Regions from separate parts of the Homo sapiens genome. Here all the other regions are linked to region 2. The links are contacts of gene promoters, found by promoter capture Hi-C in blood cells and fetal thymus (Javierre and others, 2016). All regions are on one chromosome and are shown on one strand. Each heading gives the region's core, a stretch centred on a gene start or on the middle of the fragment in contact. The rest is flanking DNA. Distances are from core to core; before and after follow the strand shown. Region 1 has its middle 2.7 kb from the start of KAT14. Region 2 holds the start of ANKEF1 (ankyrin repeat and EF-hand domain containing 1). Region 3 holds the start of SNRPB2 (small nuclear ribonucleoprotein polypeptide B2). Region 4 overlaps KIF16B (kinesin family member 16B).

The links. The method cuts DNA at HindIII sites, captures the fragments that hold promoters and counts their contacts. A CHiCAGO score of 5 or more calls a contact.
Region 1: a fragment that was not itself captured here is called in contact with the fragment with the promoter of ANKEF1 in region 2 in 1 of 17 cell types (total CD4 T cells); the score reaches 6.3 in total CD4 T cells.
Region 3: a contact is called between a fragment that was not itself captured here and the fragment with the promoter of ANKEF1 in region 2, in 7 of 17 cell types (total CD4 T cells, naive CD8 T cells, total CD8 T cells and 4 more). The highest score is 20.9, in total CD4 T cells.
Region 4: a contact is called between a fragment that was not itself captured here and the fragment with the promoter of ANKEF1 in region 2, in 1 of 17 cell types (naive CD8 T cells). The highest score is 5.2, in naive CD8 T cells.

The regions. Positions count from the first base shown.
Region 1 is chr20:18,132,925-18,137,358 of GRCh38, forward strand. It overlaps a transcript of KAT14 not described here. Among named protein-coding and RNA genes, the nearest start is that of KAT14, 2.7 kb to the right of the region's middle. The HindIII fragment of the contact is 2,828 bases long and covers 1,771-4,434 here.
Region 2 is chr20:10,032,693-10,037,256 of GRCh38, forward strand. ANKEF1 (ankyrin repeat and EF-hand domain containing 1) reads left to right here and starts at 2,295. Exons shown (of 11, transcript NM_022096.6): 1 at 2,295-2,641; 2 at 2,887-2,950. All of the region lies in intron 3 of SNAP25-AS1 (SNAP25 antisense RNA 1), which reads right to left. RefSeq lists a silencer at 2,086-2,635. The HindIII fragment of the contact is 1,358 bases long and covers 1,703-3,060 here.
Region 3 is chr20:16,727,789-16,732,449 of GRCh38, forward strand. It overlaps SNRPB2 (small nuclear ribonucleoprotein polypeptide B2), which reads left to right and starts at 2,238. Exons shown (of 7, transcript NM_003092.5): 1 at 2,238-2,376; 2 at 3,880-3,978; 3 at 4,376-4,548. The coding sequence starts at 3,915. RefSeq lists enhancers at 1,349-2,217, 2,276-2,325, 2,376-2,495 and a silencer at 2,646-2,695. The HindIII fragment of the contact is 864 bases long and covers 1,111-1,974 here.
Region 4 is chr20:16,560,198-16,564,592 of GRCh38, forward strand. All of the region lies in intron 1 of KIF16B (kinesin family member 16B), which reads right to left. Among named protein-coding and RNA genes, the nearest start is that of KIF16B, 11 kb to the right of the region's middle. The HindIII fragment of the contact is 249 bases long and covers 3,022-3,270 here.

The DNA of each region.
Region 1 (4,434 bases), core at 1,935-4,434, 8.1 Mb after region 2:
AGAATAATCCATCTGGTAATGGACTAGAGTTGCAGACATCAGCAATATCTCACATTTTAGTCAATATAGATTCAGGTGATTACATATAGAAATATTTGCAGATATGTAACATACACAGATAAGTATACACACATATATTTATGTGCTTTGTCAGCTGAGAGGGCCCAAAAGAAACAAAGCCCCAGTAGCAATAAGCATGCCAGGACCTATATCTTGGATTCCAATATTATTCTACAATAAAAAGAACCTTGGATTCTTGGAGAAATGGCAGATTCTGAGACTTGGGCAGGAAATATACAAGATTAGCTCAGAATATTGTGCAGTGTCAGAAAATAGACAAGTGCTAAACAAGAAAAACACACATTGATGAGGGTCCGTCAGAGAAGCAGAGGAGCTGAAAGATCTCCCAACGGCCAAAGCGGGAGCCATCTGAGCAACAAAATAAAGTAATATTGGATTATAACCCAAAGTATAAAATAAATACCCACCAGTCCACACTGATAGAAACAAATGATTGAATCAGTTACTAAATGGGAGAGAAGAGACAAACCTGTGCAGAATTTCAGATTACTTATATAGATACTGCATTGAATTCATGGTGATTAATTCCAGTACCAGAAGAAAAACTGGCTGTTTTGGAGTTCCTGAGAAAATATCTATTTTCTTCAACATGTCACCTTCCTAAAATGTTTTCAAGGGTAGTTTTAACTGTTTTTGACTTTTTCCTTATGTGCTGACTTCAGAGCCTCAGCCTGAAGAAGGTGGGATTTCGTGGCCTTGTCTGCCTATAGAGCCCACTACAGGGCCATACACAAGGCAAGCCTTCTTGCTTGCATTTAAAATAGTCATAATGGTGCTTTATGCGGTGCCATGTGGTGTGATGTTTCTGTAATCATTTAGTGCTGAGACTGATAAATTTATCAGTCACTGGTGCCAGTTCAGCTGACACCCTCCACCTTCTTCCCAAACAAACCTCCTCCTTCCCACCTCCTCCTTCTCTCTCAGCCCCAATGATGACAAGCTTCTGATCATTGCCTGAAGCCTCTGCCTTGACCTATTGCATTCATGCCCACCATCAAGCCCAGTTTAAACCCGTGCCTCCTACTGATACCTCCTGCTAGGGTACTAGTGATTTACTATTCTTTAAGACAGAAGTGACCCGAAACCCAGCTCTCCCAGGATAGCTGCCAGGACCTGGCCATGATTCAAGCCCAAATAACATAAGCCAAATTACACACTCAGTGAGGAAGGCATTTTTTTCAAGTCCCCACCCTTGTGTGAGTGAAGGTGGAACAAAGATTGTGTGACCATGTTGTTCAAACACAGGAAAATGACTGCATTCCCTCCCCTTAGTTTTCATTTGTTGATTCTTCTCCAAGCCCTGACTTCCAACTGTACTTCTTTTTTGATGCTGCCTCTTGCTTAGAGGATTCTGAAGGGAAGGACAGGGTAGTATGCTGTTCTAAAGAGTATGGGACTTTATCCTGTAGGCATGGGGAGCCACTGAGCGGTTTTTAAGGTGGTCAGCTTCCTATTTTTGTCTTTGGAGGTAAGTTCACTCTGAAGGCCAGCCAATGGCAGGGCAAGGCACCCACTGTCCTCTCCAGGAAAGCAGTGGCCATTCTGGGCACACCTAAGTCAATCCAAAGCTGAGAGGGGCAGGAACTGATGTGATCTTAGGATGCCGAGACACTAGAATATAGCCAGATACACAAGGTTCAGATGTTCTGGCCTTACAAGCAAATTGTATTAAATCAGCCATGCTTCCTAAGCTTCGTCCCACCTTGGTAAACATAAAAAATAAGGATATCTGTACAACTCACTGGGATCAACTTGCGTGAGCTTGGATAATTCTAAAAGGAGCTTCATGGATAATAATTATTTACATTTCCTTTATATGGTACTCTTATAAAAAAGAAAAAGAAAAACAAAAAAATAAATGACATATAATTATGAGAAGAAAAATAAAAGCAAATCTTGGGGTAGATTTAAATATCAACTTTGGGTAAAATTTCCTGATAACATTCTTCTTGGAGTCTCTTTTAAATATCAAGTTTTGTGTTAAAAATAGTTCCTGATCATTGCTCCTGCACATAGTTCTTGATCAAGATTTTTTTTTTTTTTTTTTTTTTTTGAGATGGAGTCTCACTCTGTCACCCAGGCTGGAGTGCAGTGGTTTGATCTCGGCTCACTGCAACCTCCACCTCCCGGGCTCAAGTGATTCTCTTGCCTCAGTCTCCCAAGTAGCTGGGATTACAGGCACCCACCACCACACCTGGCTAATTTTTGTATTTTTAGTAGAGACGGGGTTTCATCATGTTGGCCAGGCTGGTCTCGAATCCCTGACCTCAAGTGATCCACCCTCCTTGGCCTCCCAAAGTGCTAGGATTAAAGGTGTGAGCCACCACGCCTGGCTGATCAAAATCTTTTTAAATGATCATCTCTTTAATTTTTGATAGTTACCATGGAGAAAAAACTTTTTTTTTTTTTTTTTTGAGTTGAAGTCTCACTCTGTCACCGAGGCTGGAGTGCAGTGGCTCACTGCAACCTCTGCCTCTCGGGTTCAAGCAATTCTCCTGCCTCAGCCTCCCAAGTAGCTGGGATTACAGGCATGCGCTGCCACATTTGGCGAATTTTTGTATTTTCAGTAGAGACGGGGTTTCACCATATTGGCCAGGCTGTTCTCGAACTCCTGACCTCAAGTGATCCACCTGCCTTGGCCTCCCAAAGTGCCTGGAATACAGGCATGAACCACCGTTCCCAGCCAAAAAGCTATTTGATACAAGAAGTGATGATAAAATGTAAAGCCATCGGCTATGAACCAATGGGAAAAAAAAGAAAAAAACACACAATAAAAAATCAAAAGGAAATAAAGACAATAAAAGAAACAAAAAAGAGCCATTTTTTTTCTGTTCGTATAGTTATGTAAGATTTTGTATAGAAGTGTATCATGCATGTATGTGTGACCACACAGCCTTGGTGTGCCACTGGACCAATTTTCACAAACACCCAGTACCAGCACCCAGTACTAGAGTTCTAGATCAGCCTAGCCAACATGGTGAAACCCCATCTCTACTAAAAATACAAAAATTAGTGCAGCCTGGTGGCTCAGGCCTGTAACCCCAACTACTCCAGAGGCTGAGATACAAGAATCGCTTGAATCTGGGAGGCAAAGGTTGCAGTGAGATCACCCCACAGCACTCCAGCCTGGGCGACGGAGTGAGACCCTGTCTCAATTAAAAAGAAGAAAAGAAAAGAAAAAGAAAAAAATAGTTGCTTCTCAGTTTGATGATATGCAGTCACTCTCACAAATCAGTAATTTATGCGACAATAATCACGGAAAATATACTGCTTAGGCTTATAAATATTTAAACAGATAAACATACTTTTTTTTTTTTGCAAGACCTCCCTCAGTCCCCCAACCCACTTTTTTATTTGACACAGTTAATAATAAATGATTTCTTAAAAGTAGAATACTTTTTTTTTTGCTTCTAGTATCCTGAAAATAAAGAAAAGAGTACATTTCAAGAAAACAAGTTGAAAAATTAGTCACAATAAAATGAAAGGCGATTGATCTAATTCCCTGATGTACACTCTAAGGACATACAGCTCTGTTGAAGGCTCACTGATTTACAGGGGAAAATATCTAGGATATACCACGAATAAAAAGAAGTCTAATATAATTTTTAAAGAGAAATATGCAAATACACCCTGAACTGAATTTCTTCTCAAAGTTCATTACAGCAAGAACTCCATTTTCCAATTCAGTGGTACATTCTCTCTAGGCTGCAAAAAATGCTGTGGACAAAATGACATTTGGAAAAGGTATCTTTAAAGATACCTTTAAGAGCAATAGTCCCCTTATGCCATTTACGCTCACATAAGAGACTGGAATAGCAAAGCACTATGAACAGTAATGAATGTTGTAAAACTCCCTGGTGAGGCTTAATCAATACTGCCTATAGCCGTGTCCACCGGAAGAAGCTCGTTCTCTGTGAATTCTAGTGGGAAAGAATGATTGAATGATGAACACGTTTTCACTGGTTGCTCTATCAGATACTTAAAAGTTTCTGGGAGGCCTTGCCTTTTTTACCCGAGGAAGAAGTGAAAATGCGTCTTGCACAATTGCTTAACTATTCCCAACGCAAGACTTCTTTATATCATTTATTTCCCTTGTATTACTGGCGCGGAAACTTGGGTGTAAAAGTGATCACAAAGATTACATGGGGCCAGGCGCGGTGGCTCACGCCTGTAATCCTCTCGGGAGGCTGAGGCAGGAGAATCGCTTGAATCCGGTAAGGTTGCAGTGAGCCGAGATCGCGCCACTGCACTCCAGCCTGGGCGATAGACAGAGACTCTGTATCAAAATTATAATAATAATAATAATAATAATCCGAGCCTGACCAGTCGCCCCACAGCGTCAAGGTGAAACCA
Region 2 (4,564 bases), core at 1,045-3,544:
AACTCCAGAAGCGCCGCCTTAAGAGCTGTAACACTCACCGTGAAGGTCTGCAGCTTCACTCCTGAGCCAGCGAGACCACGAACCCACCAGAAGGAAGAAACTCCGAACACATCCGAACATCAGAAGGAACAAACTCCAGATGCGCCACATTAAGAGCTGTAACACTCACCGCGAGGGTCCCTGGCTTCATTCTTGAAGTCAGTGAGACCAAGAACCCACCAATTTTGGACACAGTTTGACAATAAATTTACACTCAAATATCTCTAAGGAATCAAACTTACAGATTAATAATTAGTAATCAGGTCACGTAAAGTAAATTATAAAAGAGCATTGATACCAAGATTGGCAGAAAGTTTTTTGTGTGACAAAACCAAGTTTTGGCTAAGATACACACTGCTGATGGGAGTCTAAATTGCTGTATATGTCGGGAAAACAAGTTGTCTTTATCTTGATGTTATAAATAACCTATGACCCAGAAATTTAACTCCTAGACATATACTCTAGTGAAACTCTTGAACGTGTGCGTCCAAAGACATTTATAAACATGATCTTAGTAGTATTGCTTTTAGTAGCAAATTCTGGAAACATCCCAAATGTCTATCAATAGTGGAATTGATTTGAAAGGGGTGTGGAATGGTAATATAATGGAATAGCCTACAGCTGTTTAGATAAAGGAACTCCAATTAAACATACCAACAAAGATACATTTCAAAAACAAGACGTTGAAAGGAAAAAAGTCATCAAAACAATACACAACATTCTACCACATTTTTATAAATTCTCAAAATATGCAATATTAAACATGCATTATTTAGGGAGGCATTCAATGTAGCAATGCATTTTTAAGAGGCTGGGATGATAAATGTAAAATTCAGAACAGGTATTATCTCTGGGAACAGGAAGAGGAGGATGCAGTGTTGGGAAGAAATACATATAAGTACAGCAGTAGAGGCAGACTTTTTTTTCCTTTTCCTTTTTCCTTTATTTTTCCTAGCTTTCTTTTTCTTTAGCTATGGTATTTCTTTAGCTATGGTATGGTATGGTATGTACTTTCCATATATCATACAGTATATTTTGGTGTGCATGAAATAGTCCTTAATAACATTTTTATTATTTTTTATTTGACGTTTAAGTTCAGGGGTACATGTGCAGATTTGTTATATAGGTAAACTTGTGTCATGTGGTTTTGTTGCACAAATTATTTTCTCACCCAGGTATTAAGATTAGTACCCATTAGTTATTTCTCTTGATCCTCTCCCTCCTCCCACTCTCCACCTTCTACCCTCCAATAGGCCCCAGTGTGTGCTGTTCCCCTCTATGTGTCCATGTGTTCTCATCACTTAGCTCTCACTCATAAGTGAGAACATGCAGTATTGGGTTTTCTGTTTCTGCGTTAGCTTGCCAAGGATAATTGCCTCCAGCTCCATATTCCTGCAAAAGACATAATTTTGTTCCTTTATATGGTTGCATAGTATTCCATGGTGTATATGTACCGCATTATCTTTAGCCAGTCTATCATTGATGAGCACTTAGGTTGATTCCATGTCTTCGCTCTTAACATTTTTAAACAGTCTCTGAGTAGAATAGGGTAGGCTGGTGTAAGGAATTACTGTTTTTAATTGGAAGCAATTACATACTGCATTAAAAAGCATATATATATAGACACACATATATATGTTTTACATTCACATAATCAAACCAAAGCTTTCAGAATTTTCCGCCAAAAAGCATGTGTGGAGGGAGAGAGAGGGGTGTTATGGTGCATTTGTAGGCCCTGAAATAAAGTGATCTCCATATTTGCTTCCATTTGTGTATAAATATTTTTTAAGCATATATGCATCCTAGAGTATGGAAAGAAAATTTCTGGGAAGATTTGCAAGAATCTGTGGCAGTTGAGAGTAGGTTCACTTTCGCTTTATTGTGTAATTTATTGTATTTTTCATTTAATTGTACTTTGTAAACTAAATATTTATTGTATATTTTACTTCATTTTTTAATTGCCATATGCAGCTTTAATTTTATAACTAAATTACGTTCTGACCCAGGGCAGGAGGTGGGAGAAGAGAATGAGAGAAGGGCGGAATCCTCAAGACAGCAGCATTCTGCGCTCCGCCCTGGAACACCCAGCGCAGCTACCCCATCCCGCCCAGGCCGGCCACCTGGCGTCGAAGCCAGGCGCGAGGGGCGGAGGCGGAGGCGGGGGCGGGGGCGGAGGCGGAGGCGGAGGCGGAGGCGGAGGCGGAGGCGGAGGCGGAGGCGGAGGCGAGCACCGCCCCACCGCGCACGCTGCGGTTGCCCCGGCAGCCGCGCCCTGCGTGGCGGAAGCTCACAATCAGCCCGGTCCCTCCGGCTTCCACCCCGCCCCCTGCGCTCACCTGCCCGCGCGCTCGCCTTCCGGGGACCCGGGGCCCATGGACACATACACCCAGCCCTGCTGTCCCGCGCGCCAGCTCACCAGCCCTACCCAAGGGACATCATTCACGCCTGGGCGCCTCCGCCGGGCTCCGGGAGCCCAAGGTCGCGGCTGGGCCAGCGCTGAGCGTCAGAGGACGAGAGCAGGGGCCTCCCCGGTCGCCCCAGCAGGCCCAGGCACATAGGTGCCCAGAGATCCCTGGCTTCTGATCGCCCGGAAGACTAAGAGGTGAGCATGACACATGGCTTTTCCTTTGACGTTACATCTCTACCCCCTCCACTCCTCTCTTCTCCAGATTTTTCTGGAGACTAAAAAGTGGAAAGCACAGTAGAGAACCCCCAACATGTAAACTATCGCTTACACTTGTGGGTGAGCTGAAACCCGCAAAAGTTTGGTGTATTCATAAGGAGCCTATATTGAAGGACTTTGCTAAATGTTTTACAAGGATCATATCTCATTTCCTTTTCACACAGTCCCATGAAGTGGGCACCATTGCTATTGCCAGTTCACAGATGCAGAAACTGAGGTAAAAACTAGGTAGGTAGCATATCCATATTTATATCCAACTAGTTTGTGTAAATAATGATACAGGGAAGGGAGGATCACAACGGATTTCCCCACCTCAAACCCTACATTCCACTGTACCAAGCTTGTCTTCCTCCATTCCTCTTTCTAATGATCCTTCCTTGTCGCACAGCCCCCCTTTGAGAGTTAAATGACCTGAACACACACAGATTCCCACAGATTTTCATGTAATTTCCGAGTATTCAGACCCCGAACATGGACCTCAAGTCAAGACATTCTGCTCTATTCCACTACCTTGGTAGATGGTTAGATGTGACTAAGGTGGCCCAGGGTCATGCTGGGGAAAAGTACAGGTGTGCTTGTATGTGGAGGATCCTATATGCTGCTCAATTTACAAGGAACCCAGGACCCAAGGGCTACACTTGTGTGATTTCCTGCAGTGGGGTGAGCTCTTGGTCAGTCTTAGCAGTTGATTGTGAAGGACACTATACAGGGTGCTGCCCTCTCCCCAGCACTTCAGGGCTTTAGCTGGGAGGGAGGCAGTCCACAGGAAACCGACCCATGGACCTACTGAATTCATCACTGTAGCTGCTAATTAATTCTCCGTTAGAGATGGGTGCTAACAGAGGCAACATTGAAGTCCCTGATTGGGAAATCCTTATTTTCACAAATCAAGTGGCATTGATTCAGTCTAATCATTACCTATGTAGGAGCATCTTGCCCTATTCCATAGATGACACATATACATATGCAGTATGATGACACCGCACCTAATCGGAATATGGCCGATAATAATAAAACAAGCCATAAATAGCAGCTAAGGTGAGTGTCACCAAGCCGTGCAGCAAAGTCCAAGTGGATGACTCTGAGGCAGCCTCAGTTGGTTCCCTAGTCCACCGCATGTTATAAACAGATTAAAAGGCAAAGGAGGCCTGGCCCGGTGGCTCACGCCTGTAGTCCCAACACTTTGGGAGGCTGAGGCGGGTGGATCACCTGAGGTCAAGAGTTCAAGATCAGCCTGGCCAACATGGTGAAACCCTGTCTTTACTAAAAATACAAAAATTAGCCAGGTGTGGTGGTGGGCACCTGTAATCCCAGCTACTCGGGAGGCTGAGGCAGGAGAATCGCTTGAACCCAGGAGGTGGAGGTTGCAGTGAGCCGAGATTGTGCCACTACACTCCAGCCTGGGTGACAGAGTGAGAGTTGGGCTGAGGGTCGAGGGTCATGGGATAGGGCGAGACACCAGGGGAGTGTGTGAGGACAGAAAAGAGTCTTGAGGACCTAGCCCTGGGCACCCAACATAGGCTTCTTGAAATGGGGAGTCAGCAAAGGAGCCTGAGCAGGAGGGGGCATTGGTGTTGGATGGAAGCAGGCGATGGAGATGTTGTGGTGCCTAGAGAGACACATTTAAAGGAGAGAGAGCTCACTGCCGTAGAGAATGTAGGTGAGGGAGCAGGCTTGCGATGGAGAAAAATGGTGCATAGTTTCAACTTTTGTAGTAAGATGGAATCTTTTCATTGCAAATGTTGGAAACTTAGCTAACTAGCTTATACCAAAATAAGGTGACGGGGGAGAAGATGTATTTACCCACAAAGTGGTAGATGGCTTCTGGCACCATGGAATCCA
Region 3 (4,661 bases), core at 293-2,792, 6.7 Mb after region 2:
TCTTCTAGTTTTTAAAAATGTGAGTTTTGGACATCTGATTCCTGATCTCACCCTCAAGAAGTGGATCTGGTTATAAAGTGATGATGTTTTACAGTACATGTGACCATAGTTTAGCTGCTATAATATTCTTAATATAGTTACATAGCCAGGCTATGCAAGGTTTCTCACAAAACCAGAAAAGCTATTCGATCCTTATCATTCCCTTCCTGTACTGTTCTCAATAACTGGCTTCTCAAATCGTTCAGGAAACCACTGAGAATCATTAACGGGTTATTGGAATGCCCAGAGTGACTGCCCAAGGACAGGAAAATGCACTGGCTCTTTTTAGAAGAACCTGGAAAAGTGCATGCAGACCATTGCGGCTGAGTTGGCAATGGATGATTTCCTTCTCACAGTGTAATGTACAATAGCTGTAATTTAATTGTTAATAGAACACAACATGCAGTCTGTCTTCAGGCCTCTGTGTTTCTTGTGGTATTTTCTTCCCAGGTTGGAGTGTTTTTGTATAATCACATCTTATTCTCTTTTAACAGTTATCAACTCTTGGCTAGATCCCCTTATACAATACAGAGTATAGTTTATTCTCAGTAGTGTAGCCATCCTCATTATTATCAAACAGAACTAATTGCTGAGATGCTCATAGTAATATGCAAAACAGCTTGTCCTTTGTTATTTAGAAATTGTTTATATTAAGTTTATATTCTCTTTTAATTTGTTAAAGATATAATTCTTTGACTGAGATAGGACATTTCTTCTCATTGGTTTATTTATTTTAGAGATGAGATCTCACTATGTTGCCCAGGATGATTTTGAACTCCTGGACTCAACCAGTCCTCCTGTCTCAGCCTCCCCAAATGCTAGGATTACAGGTGTGAGCTACTACACTCAGCCATTTCTTCTAGTTTTAGATCTATATAATAAAACGATGCTTTTCTGTGATCCCTTAACATTCTCTACACTCAGGTGCATGTTCAAAGCATATTTGTTTTACTGTTGCCTAGTTTTCCATGTCATTCATTGAATTATCCAATGCATATTAATTATCAGTCACTTTTCCCATTACTAAGGGTACTTGAGTGAACAGAGCAGACAAAAACCCCACCCTTAAAAAGCTTATATTATTTTCAAGTTGTTGCAACTTTGGGTGTTTTTAAAAAATAAAAATTCCCAGCTGATAAAACCAACTTATTTGACAGCTACCTGCCTCACCAGTAGAACCAAGTTATAGCCAGAATTCAGAAATAACATTTTTGAGCATTTATTGTGTCTGACAATGTGCCAATCACTTTACATTTATTTTAGCTCATTTAATGCTTACAACAACTAGAAGGAGGTACTATTAGGATCCCTATTTTACAGATGAAAAAAGTGAAGGTCAGAGAGATTAGTTAAGCAGAGGGTACAAGATTAGGTTCCAGTTGACTCTTAACAACCATTTCATATTCCAGGTGATGCTTTACAGACATCTGATGAATGGATGGATGAATGAATGCATGCACTTTGGGAACTCCCATTCAGCTTGGCATAAATACTAACTCCTTAGAATACCCTAGAAAAATCTAGACCTTTTGTTGGAAGAAAAGAGTGGGAAGGGTGGTAGGGAATTATTTTTTCGAGTGAATTGAGGCAGATGATCTTACAGATGACTGGGTTCTAGTCAGCATGGTTGCCTTATCTGGTGAGAGATGAGAATTGGGCAGACACCAGTTCTGTCTGCCCTGGGCCCTCAAACTGAGTAGCCTCTGAGATTCAAGTTCATCAGCACAGTGTTGGAGGACAGTTCCTGCAGAGCCCCATGAATCAGAGGAGACTCGGAGGCAGGAGGAACTGGCTATCCTAAAGGTGATTTTAAACCGGGGTAGCTAGAGCCCAAAGAAGGGCGAAACCAGGACTAACTGCCCCATAGCATGAGGGGCAGCGCCTGTAAAATTACATAGGATTTGTAAAGGTGGAAGGCACTGTTGCGCCGGGTAAAGCTTCGCAAGGTCGTGGTAGGGGAAATGATTCACTCCCCTTCACTATTCCCTCGCAGCATGGTCCTCACAACCCCCTTCTCTTTCCCCATTTCCATTTCCGGACTCTTCTCCTGCCCGCAGGGCAGACGCACGCGCAGAGAGATTGCCAGCCCTGGCTGCCAGAGACCCGGAAGCATCGATCGGCTCTGTGCTCGGCTTCTAGACTTGTCGGCGCTCGATTGAGGAGCGTGGCTACGTTGCTTCCGGTGCCTGGCTCCGTTTCCTGCTTTTGGTTCTTACAGTAGTCGGCGTAGGCCTTAGGTGGGTTCGTGCGCCTTCTACCTCGCTGTTTCGGTTTTCCTGGCTCCTCGGCCCTTTTCTCCCCTGTTGCAGCTGGGAGCGGACGAAGCGCGAAGCTGGGGTGGGTACGCGTTTGGCCCGGGTTTGGATCTCGGAGGGGCAGGCTTGGGGGTGAGGAGACTGACTCTGGGGCCGGGCATCGCGTGGCAGCTCCCTTGGACTTCGTTAGGGGGCCTTGGGCGAAGGTGCTTGTGTCTGGAGAGGCGGGAGGCTTGCGCGTACGAAGTAAAGGATAGTTAATGTCAGTCTGCTCGTGCGAGGCGTGGACAGTTCACTGCGCTTTCAGGTGTCTTCCAGCGGCTCCCTTTTGGTGGTGGCGGGTAATTCAGGGTGTCCCTGTAACAACGCAGCCCACGATCAAACCTCGCATGAAACCCTGCAAGAGCCTCCCCTTTGTCCCCCTACCTTCACTTTGACCTCTGCCTCAGTCACTTCCCTTTCGTCGTCTCCTTTGCGACCCCTGCCCCTTCTCCAGATTTCGATTTAGGGGGTCGCAAGGCTTTGAGAAGCGTTACGTTTTACCTGTTACCTGCACAAGTGCAGCCCCTGCTTGTAGGCTCTTCCCTTGTCAATCATCCAATGCAGTTCACATACAGTGGATGCTCTGTAAATACTGTGAGATAAAGGAATATGTGGGGCACACAAGGAAATCATCCAAGTTCACAATTTGCAAGTAAAAACCATGTAAAAAATGCAATAGTGTGGTATATGAGGAAGACAAGTGTAGAGGAGAAAGCAAGGGCTGAATTTCCAGGCCTGATGCTTATTAGCTGTGTGACCTTAGGCAAGTTCCTTACCTGGTAATAGCTGTTAATAATAGCTACTCTTAAGTGTTTACCGCTGATGCAGAACTGTGCTAGAATTCATTTAGTCTTCTGAGTTCTATTGGGTAGGTTCTGTTACCATTCTTATTTTACTGATGAGGACCTGAGAGGTTAAGGAACTTCCCTCAGGCAAACAGCTAGTAAGAAGCATAAATAGGATTTGAATTCACATCTGGCTGATACTGGAATCTGAGTTTAATCGTCATGCCACACTGCTGTCATTGAGCTCCTTTCTTTCAAGTCGGTTAGAGATAACCTTGGAGTCCAGACAGCTTGGTGATGCTGTATACAAATTAATAGGTATGGAAGGACTTTGTAAGTGCACCCATTAAGTAGTTGGCAAACTTCATTAATGTCTAACCTTATGATTTTTACTGGATGTACATTTGCTACTTTGGTCATTTTTCTTCAAATCTACATTTTAAAATTATTTCATTGAGGAGGTGGAAAGAAAATGTCACGTGTCATAAGTGAAACGTAAGTGTAAAAATAAATGTGTTGAATTAAATGGTGTTACTAAAATCTGGCTAGGTATTGGTGCTCCAAGTTTTGAATGTGAGAAACTGTTCTTCTTCTGTATGAAAAGGAGGGCTAGTAGGTGCTGGAGATACAATAAAGGCTACAGCCAAACTGACATTTTCTGACAACTGGGATTGAAAGAGAAATGAAAAGTTAATAATTCTTGTGTTGTGTCCTTATGCCACAGTCCAGTATAATTTACTCCTTCCTTTTTATAACAGATTTTTTACTGTCTCCTGAAGAATTTAACACAAACATGGATATCAGACCAAATCATACAATTTATATCAACAATATGAATGACAAAATTAAAAAGGAAGGTAAGTGCTTTTTAGAATACTTGTTCACTACTAAAATGTGTTTATTTACTACTGTCTTAAAAATTGTACTGCCTCAAAACCTCTTACCTCATCATCTTAGTGCCTGAAATAATGGTTTATCCCATTTCCTATAGGGATTTGAAGGCTTTTAAAAAACAAAAATAGGTAGGAACTGACAGTGTGTACAGTCTGTTTCTACTCATAGATATAATGGTTTCATATAACTTTTAAAATTACATATAGCCAATGGGAATAGTATATGTTTTTATAAATATTAAAATATATAACTGTATAAATAAGTGAATGGTGGGGGGGGCAACTCAATGCAGTATCATTTTATGAAGACTTTTGTCATTACTTTATTACCAATAACTTGTTTCTTTTCTAATTTGGACAGAATTGAAGAGATCCCTATATGCCCTGTTTTCTCAGTTTGGTCATGTGGTGGACATTGTGGCTTTAAAGACCATGAAGATGAGGGGGCAGGCCTTTGTCATATTTAAGGAACTGGGCTCATCCACAAATGCCTTGAGACAGCTACAAGGATTTCCATTTTATGGTAAACCAATGGTAAGCCAATTCCATTATTTCACTTTAATCAAGAAATTAATGATATTGATGGGACAGTAGATTTGTAAATATGCTTGAAACTGTGGCTATTGCTTTCTGCTTTTAATTATGTG
Region 4 (4,395 bases), core at 1,896-4,395, 6.5 Mb after region 2:
CTTTAGGGAAAAGGATGAGAACAGACCAGATATTTTCGTAAAGCCTTATCTGGCAAATTGATTGAATTTGAGCTAGTCTCCATCACCTAGAATCATTTTTTCTTGACAGTTCCCTGGGGAACTTTTAAGTCCTGCTCTGAGGAAGTTCACACAGTGACTTAACTGTGTCCCAGGCAGAATCCCTGTGATGGCTTAGACTTTGTCAATAAGAATCAGCAGGTGCAGTGAGGTGAGACCACAGGCCCCTGGGGCAAAGGACACCAAGTTCCTGAGAGCAGGCATCCCATGGAGGGTTCAGAATCCTACACTCTTAAAAGTTTAAAATCTTGATCTGAGCAATGGCTCAAGCCTGTAATTCCAACACTTTGGGAGGCCAAGGCAGGCGGATCACCTGAGCTCAGGAGTTCAAGACCAACCTAGGCAACATGGTGAAACCCCTTGTCTAAAAGAAATACAAAAATCACTCAGCTACTTGGGGGGCTGAGGCTGAGGTGGGAGGATCGCTTGGGCCTGGGAGGTCAACGCTGCAGTGAGCCATTTTCGTGCCACTGCACTCAAGCCTGGGTGACAAAGTGAGATATTATCTCAAAAAAAAAGAAAAAAAGCTCTAACCAGCTAACAAGAGGAAACGGAATTGGCAGTCACTCTGACGGCATGATGTCTCAGTGTTGTCTCGAGTAACAAAATCAGATTTTACCAACTTCTTCTCTGGATAATAAATTCACTTCATCAGTGTTTTTTTCAAACTATGAATCATAAAATCATTTTAGTGAGTAACAATCATCTTTTTTTAAAAAAATATAATAGAGAGGCCGGGCGCAGTGGCTCATGCCTGTAATCCCTGCGCTTTGGGAGGCTGAGGTGGGTGGGTCACCTGAGGTCAGGAGTTCAAGACCAGCCTAGCCAACATGGTGAAACCCCGTCTCTACTAAAACTGCAAAAAAAAATTAGCTGGGCGTGGTGGCGGGTATCTGTAATGCCAGCTACTCAAGAGGCTGAGGCATAAGAATTGCTTGAACCCGGGAGGTGGAGGTTACAGTGGGCAGAGATGGAGCTGCTGCACTCCAGCCTGGGCCACAGAGCAAGACTCTGTCTCAAAAAAAAGTAGTAGAGAGTAGAAAATATCAGCATGCATTGAGCAGATGAATGTCTTACTGTGGATCTTGTTTGAAGCACATAGTTCTATACAATCATCATCAGCCTTCCAAAACATAAGCGCCCTTCATTTCAAATAATATGACAAATCCTTTCTCACTAAGTCAGTGGGAAAAAAAAAGTTTTAAATAGTTCTTATATTCACAATAACTTTTATTAGAAAATCTGAGGTGTGTTGCCATGAGGGGAAAATTCTTTTGCAAACTGAAGTCAAAAATTTTAAGTATCTCCCCCAAGATATTTATTAATTACAAACAGGAAAAAAAAAATAAAACATTACAGTGGAGAAACCCTGCAGATACCACCTTAACCACGTAATCAAGGTCAACATCACCAGTAGTAAGACATATTGACATCACATACCCCAGTAACATATGAAGGACACAAAATCACTTTTGTGGTATTATTGTCAAAAATTGCTTAACTTCAACGTATTTGTGATAAAACATCAGAGAAAGCCACACTGAGAACCATTCTAAAAAATAACTGACCAGTACTCTTCAAAAATTAAGGTTATGAAAAACAAGGAAAGACTTACAAACTGTCACGTACCAGAGAAGACTCAGGAGACATGCTACATTTAGATGCAATGTGGGATCCCGGATTGGATGCTGAACCAGAAGGAAGACATTAGTGGGAAAACTGGTGAAATCTAGATAAAATTTAGTTAATTTCTTCGTTTTGATCATTGTGCTGTGGTTACATAAGGCATAATATTACGGGAAGTTCGGTGAAGAGTTTATATATGGGAACTCTCTACTATTTTGCAACTTTACTATAAATCTACAATTATTTCAAAATAAAAATTTTTTAAAATATCTTTTCTGAAGAAAGAAACAAGAGTATTCTGCCCTATAAACTGTGTATCATTTAAACACAGTAAAGTGTTGTACCATAGTGCTGTACCTCCAACTCTCTAACCTTAAGGGATAAACATAATGTGCATTGGTGTGTAATATGAAGTAATCTTAATCTTCATTGGGAGTGTAATATTAAGTAAACTTAATACACGGGAAAGAGCTGAAGCTGTCCTTGTTTACCCAGGCTCTTGCTCAGCCCTCCGTCACCCCTCACGTCTTCCTAATACCCAATAGGAGGATTGTCAAGATGCTCTTTTCCTCCTCACGGAGAACAATGTGAGACATGCAACAAACGCCGTGACTACGGATCCCAATCCCTCACGAGCAACCACAGAAAGTAAGAGGCATGTGTGGAGGGTGAGTGGAGATACTTATAAATGTAACAAATACTTTCTGAGTGCTCAGGTCTTCCCGGCACAGTTCCAGGCCCCGGGGAAACAGCCATGAACAAGATCTACACGGTGACTGGCTCTCAGAGAGTTTAAGAGATAATAAGCAAACAAAAATATATTCACACATACACACACGTATACATTCATAAAATGGGGAATGTTAGCAAGCCAGAAAACCAGAGTGAGGTAATAAAGCCTTCTCTGAAGACGGGCATATGAGACAGAACCTGATCCTTCTTTGAGACTCAGTTTCCCATCTATAAGACGGATCTAATGATGTTCACCCCTGTAGAACTGTTGTGAAGAAGTGAATTAGATAGTACAGCGCAGGATTTAGCAGAATTCCTAGCAAGTGAATGAGTGGCCAGAAATAGTAATGAGTGACCAAATTACTGATCAACAATTACATTGAAAGCATTAACTTTCTCAATTTACTTTAAATTCTACATATCCCACTGAAATGTACTTAAAGTGTCTATAAATAAATGACTGATCACAGAAACAGCTATTTCCTATCTCATGGACAGCAACAATGAAAAATGAATACATTTGGAAATGGACAGAGCAAAAAACACAAATGCTCCGCCCAGGGATAATAGGAGTGACCGAAGGCAAGCTTCCTGGCCCCACTGGTGGTTACCTCCTTTGTGCTTGGATGAATGTGCGGGCTAAGTCCAAGCCAGTGCTGACCAACCTCCCTGGAAGGATTTTTTCCCCTGTCTTTTTATAACCTGAACGTGAGGAAAGGCAGTCAAAGCCACCAAAATAAATCTCTCAGTCCTCAGGAAGGAGCTAAAACACTATTACTTCTTTTCCCAGGCTACAGGTCTAAGTATAATTAACATATTCTCTTTCACAAAACAAGCTTCAGTAAGATGGCATCCCAATTCCAGAATCTGCAAAAACAGCCAAAGCTATCAAAATAACTTAGAAAAACAGTCAAGAAACAAGGAAGTATCACATCAATCAACTTTAGACCAAACTGCTATATATCACACAACTGGACATTTCTAAATAACTTCTCTCTCTCTGACAGGCAAAAAGAAACACATACACACTCGATCTCTGCCACTCCACTCTCTCCCACTCCACTCTCATGCTCACACAGTTTCCATGTTTAAAATAAAGCAACAGAAGTTTAAAACCAAATTATGTGACCCAAGTCACTCAAGAGCACCTTTTAAACTACTAATACACCTTGTATAAGTGTATTTTGCACACAAAGATATTTTAAAATATTGTATAAGGAAAAATACCAGACATTTGCATCATATTACTTATAAAGTTCACCTAAAAGAAAGAAAAAACTTCCATGCGCTCCCAACTCAAGGTGTCAGCAACAGCAGCAACTCTCCCCTCCTTTCTCTTTCCAGCCAGCAGCCCCTTCCCTCCCTTGCTCCTCCAGCCTTCTTTCACCAACCCCAAACTCCCTGTTTTCTTTTTCTCTTCTTCAAAACAAAAAGAGACAAACAAAAAAATCTGTCTTCTGCTGAGCCTGGGTTTGTCATGTCCAGGTAAGGGCTGGGATCCAGGGATGCAGACCAGGCCATGCCTCAAACATGGAGTAAAAAAGTTTCAAAAGATTACAGGAGTCCTTGCGGTAATTTGCTGAGAATGATGGTTTCCAGCTTCACCCATGTCCCTACAAAGGACAGGAACTCAACCTTTTTTATGGCTGCATAGTATTCCATGGTGTATATGTGCCACATTTTCTTAATCCAGTCTATCACTGTTGGACATTTGGCTTGGTTCCAAGTCTTTGCTATTGTGAATAGTGCCGCAATAAACATACGTGTGCATCGCAAGGACAAAAAACCAAACACCGCATGTTCTCACTCATAGGTGGGAATTGAACAATGAGAACACTTGGACACAGGAAGGGGAACATCACACACCGGGGCCTGTTGTGAGGTGGGGGGAGAGGGGAGGGATAGCATTAGGAGATATACCTAATGTTAAATGACGAGTTAATGGGTGCAGCACACCAA